Linked DNA regions of Homo sapiens: region 1 is linked to region 2. Evidence: promoter capture Hi-C in 16 types of primary human blood cells and fetal thymus (Javierre and others, 2016). All regions are on one chromosome and are shown on one strand. The core of a region is centred on a gene start or on the middle of the fragment in contact, and the rest is flanking DNA. Distances in the headings are between cores, read along the strand shown. Region 1 overlaps LOC105371348 (a long non-coding RNA gene). Region 2 holds the start of CTRB1 (chymotrypsinogen B1).

Region 1 (3,776 bases), core at 1,147-3,646, 550 kb before region 2:
AGGAGAAGAAGATAGTGACAAGGATAGCAAATGCAAACCTAAGAGACAAAGAAATTCAACTACTAGAAGGACCACAGGCAAAATTGTGATATGGGATTATCTTCCTCTAATGTCATTTTACTTCCCTTTTTTTCACCATTACTTACATCTGTCATTTTCTTTCTACTGGGACCCAATGTCTTGTACATTCTAACTTCTTGGAAGTCTAAATCAAACTAGGAATCAGGAAGAAGATGATCATAGACAGCAAAAAATTACACATATATTGCATTATTTTACTCATCAGGAAAAGGCCTGTGAAATAAGTATTTATGAAATCACAGGAAGAGCTGAAGTAGAAGGACATCTACAGGCTCTTCTTAGTAGTCATCAAAATATACCTGGTAAGCAGCTACCTACCTAGAGATAAGATACCTCCTACCTTACAGTTCACTGGGATTCTATTAGAATTTATTTTTCACTCTGCATTACCTTTTTTGGTAATCTACTATATATCAGTGATATAGAAATTAACTGTATTCTTTTTAACCCCAAGAGTTTTCTCTTTGACTCAAAAGATATATGGCCTCTTGTGGTCTCCAATCAAAGCTTCTATTGGATATTTTATTTAGTGTAAGATTTCTTTCTACATATTCCCATTAATGCTCCCATTCACTCTCCATTTCCTGATCAGCACCTTTTTTTAACCACTGGATAGTTTATGTAAGTAAGACAGTGTTCTACACTCTACAAAAATAAAGTTAATTGAAACTTTGTATATTTTAAACTTGTTTTACTTCCTTTGGAATCTAATACATAACCCATATTCTGGAGGATAATGAATCAATTTATTTTGATTTGGTTCTCTGGTTGCAGTAATAATGTAAATTCAGGGGGGAAATGTAAATAAAAATTGAAAGCAACAAAAACAAATTTTCTGAATTATAGTAAAAATGCAGAATTAAATATGTCTTAAATGTTTAAACATCTTAGTGTATCTCAGTTGGAAGAAAAACAACCTCTGTGAGAACAGAAAGAAGATGACTAAAGAGCAGTGTGGTCTGAGAAGGATTCTAAGGTTGTTTTTTATCTTTAAAAAGAGGGGTTGGCAAAATATGATCCTTGGGCCAAATCCAGTCTGTGACTTTTCTATACATAATGTTTTATTGAAACACAGCCATTTATTTATATACTTACAATGGCTATTTTTGTACTACAATGGCAGTGTTGAGTAGCTGTGACAAACACAATCTGAAGCACAATACCTAAAGCATTTACAATTGGTACCTTTCTAGGAAAGATTTGCAGACCCCTGCTGAAGAAAATCTTGATGGTGGTAACATCAGCAAAAATGGCAGAGCAGGGACCCTCAAAAATTCACCCTTCCATAAAAGCAATGAAAAAATTATTTAAATGGTCAGAATTACCTTTTTCAGATCTCCAGAAATGAATCAAAAGATTTTGTGTGACTGAAGTGGATGTAGAAATTTAAAAAAAAAAAAGAATTAAAAGCTTCCCATGACCTGGGGAGAGTTTACTCAAGAAAAATGGCTGGATGGCTGTAAGAAAAGTTAGCTTTGTGACATTTTAACTTTCCCTGGTCCCACCCCCCACTCTCTAGCTCAGAAAAAGCCTTGAAAAATACTCATCTGCATTGCTGGTGCTGCCTAGCAGTCATCAGTGGGACCAGAATAGAGATGAAGCTCTTTCAAAGTATAATTCCCAAAATATTATCTCTTTTTTTTTTTTATTGAGACACAGTCTTGCTCTGTCGCCCAGGCTGGAGTGCAGTGGCACGATCTTGGCTCACTGCAAGGTCTGCCTCCCAGGTTCACGCCATTCTCCTGCCTCAGCCTCCCGAGCAACTGGGACTACAGATGCCTGCCAGCACACCCAGCCAGCTTTTTGTACCTTTAGTAGAGACAGGGTTTCACCATGTTAGCCAGGATGGTCTCGATCCCCTGACCTCGTGATCCACCTGCCTTGGCCTCCCAAAGTGCTGGGACCACAGGCATGAGCCACTGCACCCAGCCAATATTATCATTTCTTATTTGTCTGGTGGTTCTCTTGAAAAACTCATTAAGAGGCTGCCTTGGAGCTCACTCACTTCAGAGGATTTCTGTCAGGTGATGTTATTTTTGGAGACAATTACAGGCAAGTGTTTTAACTTTGTGGCTGCCTGAGGAGATTAACAACAGCTGAGGCAAACAAAGGACTAACCAAAAACCTTGAAAATAAAATAGAAGTTTGAAAATAAGATGTCTAGAAGGACATCAGAAGGCTCTGACAAAATCTCAGGGATCTAAATGACCATGTGTACTCCCAGGATAGTACACAAGCTCAGGGAAGACCTGGAAAGGCCCTCAGCTCTCATCTCTGCTTACCTTGAGGATCTATGTAGGCAGTAAGAAAAGGCTTAGATGGAGTTACAAGCTGCCTAAGTTTTGAGGACATGACCCAACATGCACAGAGAGCCCTTCAGCAAATGAAAGATTTATTGATTCCAGACCTCTAAGGAAACCTGTCTAATTACTAGCTAACCACTAAGCTAACTGAGTAGTGGCATCAATGCCCATACATGACAAAGAATACAAACTTTACTGAATTGCCTTAGAAATGTAAGTAAGAGCCGGGCGCGGTGGCTCATGCCTGTAATCCCAGCACTTTGGGAGGCCGAGGTGGGTGGATCACAATGTCATGAGATCGAGACCTTCCTGGCTAACATGGTGAAACCCTGTCTCTACTAAAAATACAAAAAAATTAGCTGGGCATGGTGGTGGGCACCTGTAGTCCCAGCTACTCAGGAGGCTGAGGCAGGAGAATGGCGTGAACCCGGGAGGCGGAGCTTGCAGTGAGCCAAGATCGCACCACCGCACTCCAGCCTGGGCAACAGAGCAAGACTCTGTCTCAAAAAAAAAAGAAACGTAAGTACGCAAACAGGTAACAATAACCAATAAGCAACAATAAAAACAAGCCATGGACATGTAGGAAAATCTGATTTCCAAACTTGCCACATAATACCTATTAAAATGTCCAGGTTTCAATAATGTAAAAAATTATAAGTCATGCAAAGAAATAAAGTACTGCCAACACACATACATAAAAATAAACAATCAATAGAATTTGTCCTAAAGGAAGCCCAGATATTGGACTTACTAGAAAAGACTTTAAATCATTTAGTCTAAATATGCCCAAAGACCAAAAGGAGAGTGTGCCTAAAGAAGTATGAGAACAATGTCTAACCAAACAGAAAACATCAATAAAGAGATGGAAATTATAAAATTCAACTTTAAAATAAAAGTTATAAAATTGAAAAGCTTAATAACAGAAAAGAAAAATTCACTACAGGTTCTCAGTAACAGATATGAAAAGACATAAAAAATCAACAAATTTCAAAATTGGTCAATTGAAATTATCCAGTCTGAGGAACAGAAAAGAAAAAGAACAAAGAAAAATGAACAGAGTTTCAGAGACCTGTGGGAAATTACTGAAAGTACCAATATATATGTAATGGGAGACCCAGAAGGAGAGGAGAGAAATGTCAAGAACCAATATTTGAAGAAATAATGCTTGTAAACTTCCCAAATTTGTTGAAAAATATTGGTTTGCACACATGAACTTCAAGTGTAATAAACTAAAAAGATTCATACCTCAATACAACATAATCAACCTCTTAAAGAATGAAGATGAAAAAACTTGGTATCAGCAAGTAAGACATGATTCATATACAATGGCTTCTCAGTAATATTAATAGCTGTTTCCCATTAGAAATCAAGGAAAAGAGAACATAAGACAAT
Region 2 (4,372 bases), core at 1,047-3,546:
GTTCCACACACGCCCACCATGCCTCTGCTATGTCAGGACCAGATTCTCGACTCCTGTGCGCGGGCCAACCCAACAAACTGGGCTTTACATTTGAGCACACCCGCGTCCCTCAGACCAGCTGTCCCCTTCTGGGGTCATATTCGCCTGCTTACAAGGCAGCCCCTGCGTCTCCTGCCCACAGGAACACAGGCAGGCAAGGTGCCTCCCTGACGTTTCAGAGCATCAAAAACTGGTATTGTAATAGCAAAAAAATGAGAAAGAGCACGTTGGAAGGCCGAGGCAGGTGGATCACAAGGTCAGGAGTTCAAGACCAGCCTGGCCAATATGATGAAACCCTGTCTCTACTAAAAATACAAAAATTAGCTGGGGTGGTGGCTCATGCCTGTAGTTCCAGCTACTCAGGAGGCTGAGGCAGGAGAAATGCTTGAACCTGGGAGGTGGAGGTTGCAGTGAGCCGAAATCATGCCACTGCACTCCAGCCAGGGCGACAAGTGTGAAACTCCATCTAAAAAAATAAATAAATAAATAAGAGAACTAGATGGTGGCATACTCACACAACAGAGCACGCATTATAAAAATGCAGGTGAATGAGCTGAAACTCCACGTCAACATGCAGGAAGTGAGAAGATTTGAGTAGGGAAAAAGCACATTGTTGTAGAATGGAGGTAGAATGGAGTATTAGTTACATCAGCCAGGCACAGTGGCTCACACCTGTAATCCAGCACCCTGGGAGGTTGAGGTGAGCAGATCACTCGAGCACAGGATTTCGAGACCAGCCTGGACAACATAATAAGACCCCAGGTCGGGCATGGGGGCTCACGCCTGTAATCCCATCACTTTGGGAGGCTGAGGTGGGCGGATCACTGGAGGTTAGGAGTTCAAGACCAGCCTGACCAATATGGTGAAACCCCATCTCTATTAAAAATACAAAAATTAGCCAGGTGTGGTGATGCATGCCTGTAATCCCAGCTACTCAGTAGGCTGAGGCAGGAGAAATGCTTGAACCCAGGAGGCGGAGGTTGCAGTGAGCCAAGATCACGCCACTGCACTCCAGCCTGGGTGACAAGAGTGAAACTCTGTCTCAAAGAAAAGAAAAAAAAATAACAAAAAAAACCTCCATCTCTACAAAACAAAACAAGTTTTTAAACTTAGCGTGCCTGTAGCGCCAGCTACTCGGGAGGCTATAGTGGGAGGATCACTCGAGCCCTTGAGTTTGAGGCTGCAAACTCACACTACTGCACTCCAGCCTGGGTGACAGAGTGAGACCCTGTCTCAAAACCAAAACCAAAACCAAAACCAAAAACAGGATAGAATACCGTTCCATTGATGTAACCTTTTTGAAACCTTATGTATAGATGTATAAAAATATGTAGTACAATTGTATAAGCTCACACTGCAATTATTCATAGAAAGTTCAGAATCAAGCTCACATTCCAGAGAGGGAAGGAGGGAGAAAAGGGAAGCCTGAGTACAATCTGTTTTAGAAATATCTGAAGCAAATGTGCAAAAAGATTTGCTGAATTCTGACAGTAGATACAAGGATGTCATATTCTTTTCTGTATTTTCTTTTACTATTTCTCTTTTAAAAAATAGAAAACACGGCTGGGCACAGTAGCTCATGCCTGTAATCCCAGCACTTTGGGAGGCCGAGGCGGGGGCATCACCTGAGGTCAGGAGTTCAAGACCAGCCTGGCCAACGTGGTGAAAGCCCGTCTCTACTAAAAATTAGCCAGGGTTGGTGGTCCATGCCTGTAGTCCCAGCTGCTCGGGAAGCTGAGGCAGGAAGATCATTTGAACCCAGGAGATGGAGGTTGCAGTAAGTGGAGATTGCACCATTGCACTCCAGCCTCGGCAATAGGAGTGAAATTCTGTCTCGAAAAAAAAAAAAGAAAGAAAGGAAGAAAATGCTTGACAAGTACCCAGCACAATAAAAACCCCGGTGGAGGCCTTGGGAGGTCTCCTGGGGCCACACCTTACCCTGCACAAGGCACCCCCACCCCAGCCACTTCTGGAGCCTCAGACCATGGCAGAGACCAGCATCGTCCTTCCCACTCCTGGAGCAGGTTGTGTGGGCTCAGAAAGCCCCAGAATGCACCCTCTCCTGAGCCCTCAGGTTACCTGTGCTGGGGATGAGGCCCCAGGGGGCAGAGCAGGGGACTCAGATCCCCCTCTCAGCCAGGCTCAGGGCTCCCTCAGGACAGACCCCTCGGGCACCAGCACTCACCAAAGGCGGCCCCCACAAGGGAGAAGCAGGAGAGGAGCCAGAGGGAAGCCATGCCGCTGCCTCAGAAGGTGTGGGGCCTGCCAGCTGCGGGGCCCCTTTTACCACCTTGGGGGGGCAGGGAGCCCAGCCCCCCCCGCTCCCCCAGCCAGGGAGGCCTGAGCCCACCCTCCCTGTTACCCAGGGACCTTGGGCAATAAGTGGAGACAGAGCCCCGCCTGGCTCTCTACCAGACAACCCCAGTCCCTGGGAAAGGGGCAGCTGCGCTGACATCACCGGTCAGCCTTGGGGACATGATCCCACAGAGCCAGCTGTGAGCTGCAGTATCCCTGCCAGGAGACGGCACCAGGCTCTTCTGTTCCCAGAGGGGAAGTGGAGGCAGTTCCACCCCAGGGCTCGTGGAGGACCAGCTGCTGTCATGGAACCAGGTCTCCGGGAACTCAGGCTCTCAGTGAAGGGTGTTTCCGCCTAACACTGTCCTAGAAGCAAAGGGTGACTCAGGGCATCGTGGATTCTCCAGAGTGTCACTGCAAGTCACCAGTGAAGCCAAGCCACTTCTGACTGTGGCGAGGGTCTGGGTGACAAGGACCAACCCGCTGGTGGCCGTAACAGGTGGGCAAAGCCACTGACACGCGTCCCACCTGTGCTGTAGAACCCAACAGAATTCACTTTTTCTGCAATGACTCATGATATAAGGAACTAATCATTTCATAAAGTTTCAGTTTCTTACAAAATGGAACTTGGATTCCGCACCATAAAATGACACAGAAAACAAACTTTTTAAGATGGAGTCTCACTCTGTCACCCAGGCCGGAGTGCAGTGGCGCAATTTCAGCTCACTGCAGCCTCCTCTTCCCGGGTTCAACTGATTCTCCTGCCTCAGCCTCCCAAGTAGCTGGGATTACAGGTGCCCACCACACCCAGCTATTTTTTTTTTTTTTTGAGATGGGGTCTTGCTCTGCTGCCTAGGCTGGAGTGCAGTGGCACAATCTTGGCTCACTGCAGCCTCCACCTCCCAGGTTCAAGCAATTCTCCCACCTCAGCCTCTTGAGTAGCTGGGATTACAGGCATAGCACCAAACCTGGCTAATTTTTATATTTTTAGTAGAGACGGGGTTTCACCATGTTGGCCAGGCTGGTCCCAAACTCCTGATCTCGGGTGATCCACCTTCCTCGGCCTCCCAAAGTGCTGGGATTACAGGCGTTAGCCACCGCACTTGGCCAATTGTTGTATTTTTAGTAGAGACAGGGTTTTACCACGTTGGCCAGGCTCCTCTTGAGCTCCCGGCCTCAGGTGATCCTGTGGCCTTGGCCTCCTAAAGTGCTGAAATTACAGGCGTGAGTCACTGCGCCTGTCTGAAAATAAATTTTGAGGAAGCAGAAAAACTTTTTTCATTGTCACAAAACAAGGAGGAAAGACAGGTGTGGGTGACAGGTCGGTGACTGGGCAGAAAGTGAAGGCCAAGGGATCCTCAGCACCCTGTGGGCAGATATTCAGGGGACAGAGCCCGCAGCATCCCTGCCCTTATGGGCCTGAGACGCTCATGACAGACACACACGACACAGATGAGCATGTAATATAGTGACCACAGTCACCTGGGGCAAGGCTGGACAGGACAGGCTGTACTGCATTTCCGGACGATGAGGGTATGAAAGTAAGACACAGTGGGTGGATGGTGTTTCCATGGAAGGCCTTGGGCTCTGTGGTCAGCGGGCCAGGTCACCTTGGCATTTAGAATATCCCCTCCCCACTCCCACCGCTGCTGGAGAATGCACAACTATAAAGCAAAACTAAACTTATATACTAAAGAGAAAATTTCAAAAGTTCACATCACCATGTTACCCTTTTTTTTTCTTTTTCCCCTGAGACAGAGTCTTGCTCTGTCGCCTAGGCTGGAGTGCAGGGGTGTGACCTCAGCTCACTGCAACCTTTGCCTCCCAGGTTGAAGCGATTCTCCTGCCTCAGTCCCCCCAAGTAGCTGGGATTACAGGCGTCTGCCACCATGCCCAGCTAATTTTTGTATTTTTAGTAGAGATGGGGTTTTGCCATGTTGGCCAGGATGATCTCCAACTCCTGACCTCAAGCGATCCAGCCACCTCGGCCTCCGAAAGTGCTGGGATTACAGGCGTGAGCCAGCACACCAGGCTGATA

Evidence for each region. Contacts are between HindIII fragments. The CHiCAGO score rates a contact against its expected background, and 5 or more counts as called.
Region 1: a contact is called between a fragment that was not itself captured here and the fragment with the promoter of CTRB1 in region 2, in 1 of 17 cell types (total B cells). The highest score is 5.5, in total B cells.

What each region holds. Positions count from the first base shown.
Region 1 is chr16:75,768,629-75,772,404 of GRCh38, reverse strand. All of the region lies in intron 2 of LOC105371348 (a long non-coding RNA gene), which reads right to left. Among named protein-coding and RNA genes, the nearest start is that of CPHXL, 44 kb to the right of the region's middle. The HindIII fragment of the contact is 1,805 bases long and covers 1,494-3,298 here.
Region 2 is chr16:75,216,912-75,221,283 of GRCh38, reverse strand. It overlaps CTRB1 (chymotrypsinogen B1), which reads right to left and starts at 2,296. Exons shown (of 7, transcript NM_001906.6): 1 at 2,225-2,296. The coding sequence starts at 2,276. RefSeq lists an enhancer at 2,679-2,758. The HindIII fragment of the contact is 15,887 bases long and covers 1-4,372 here.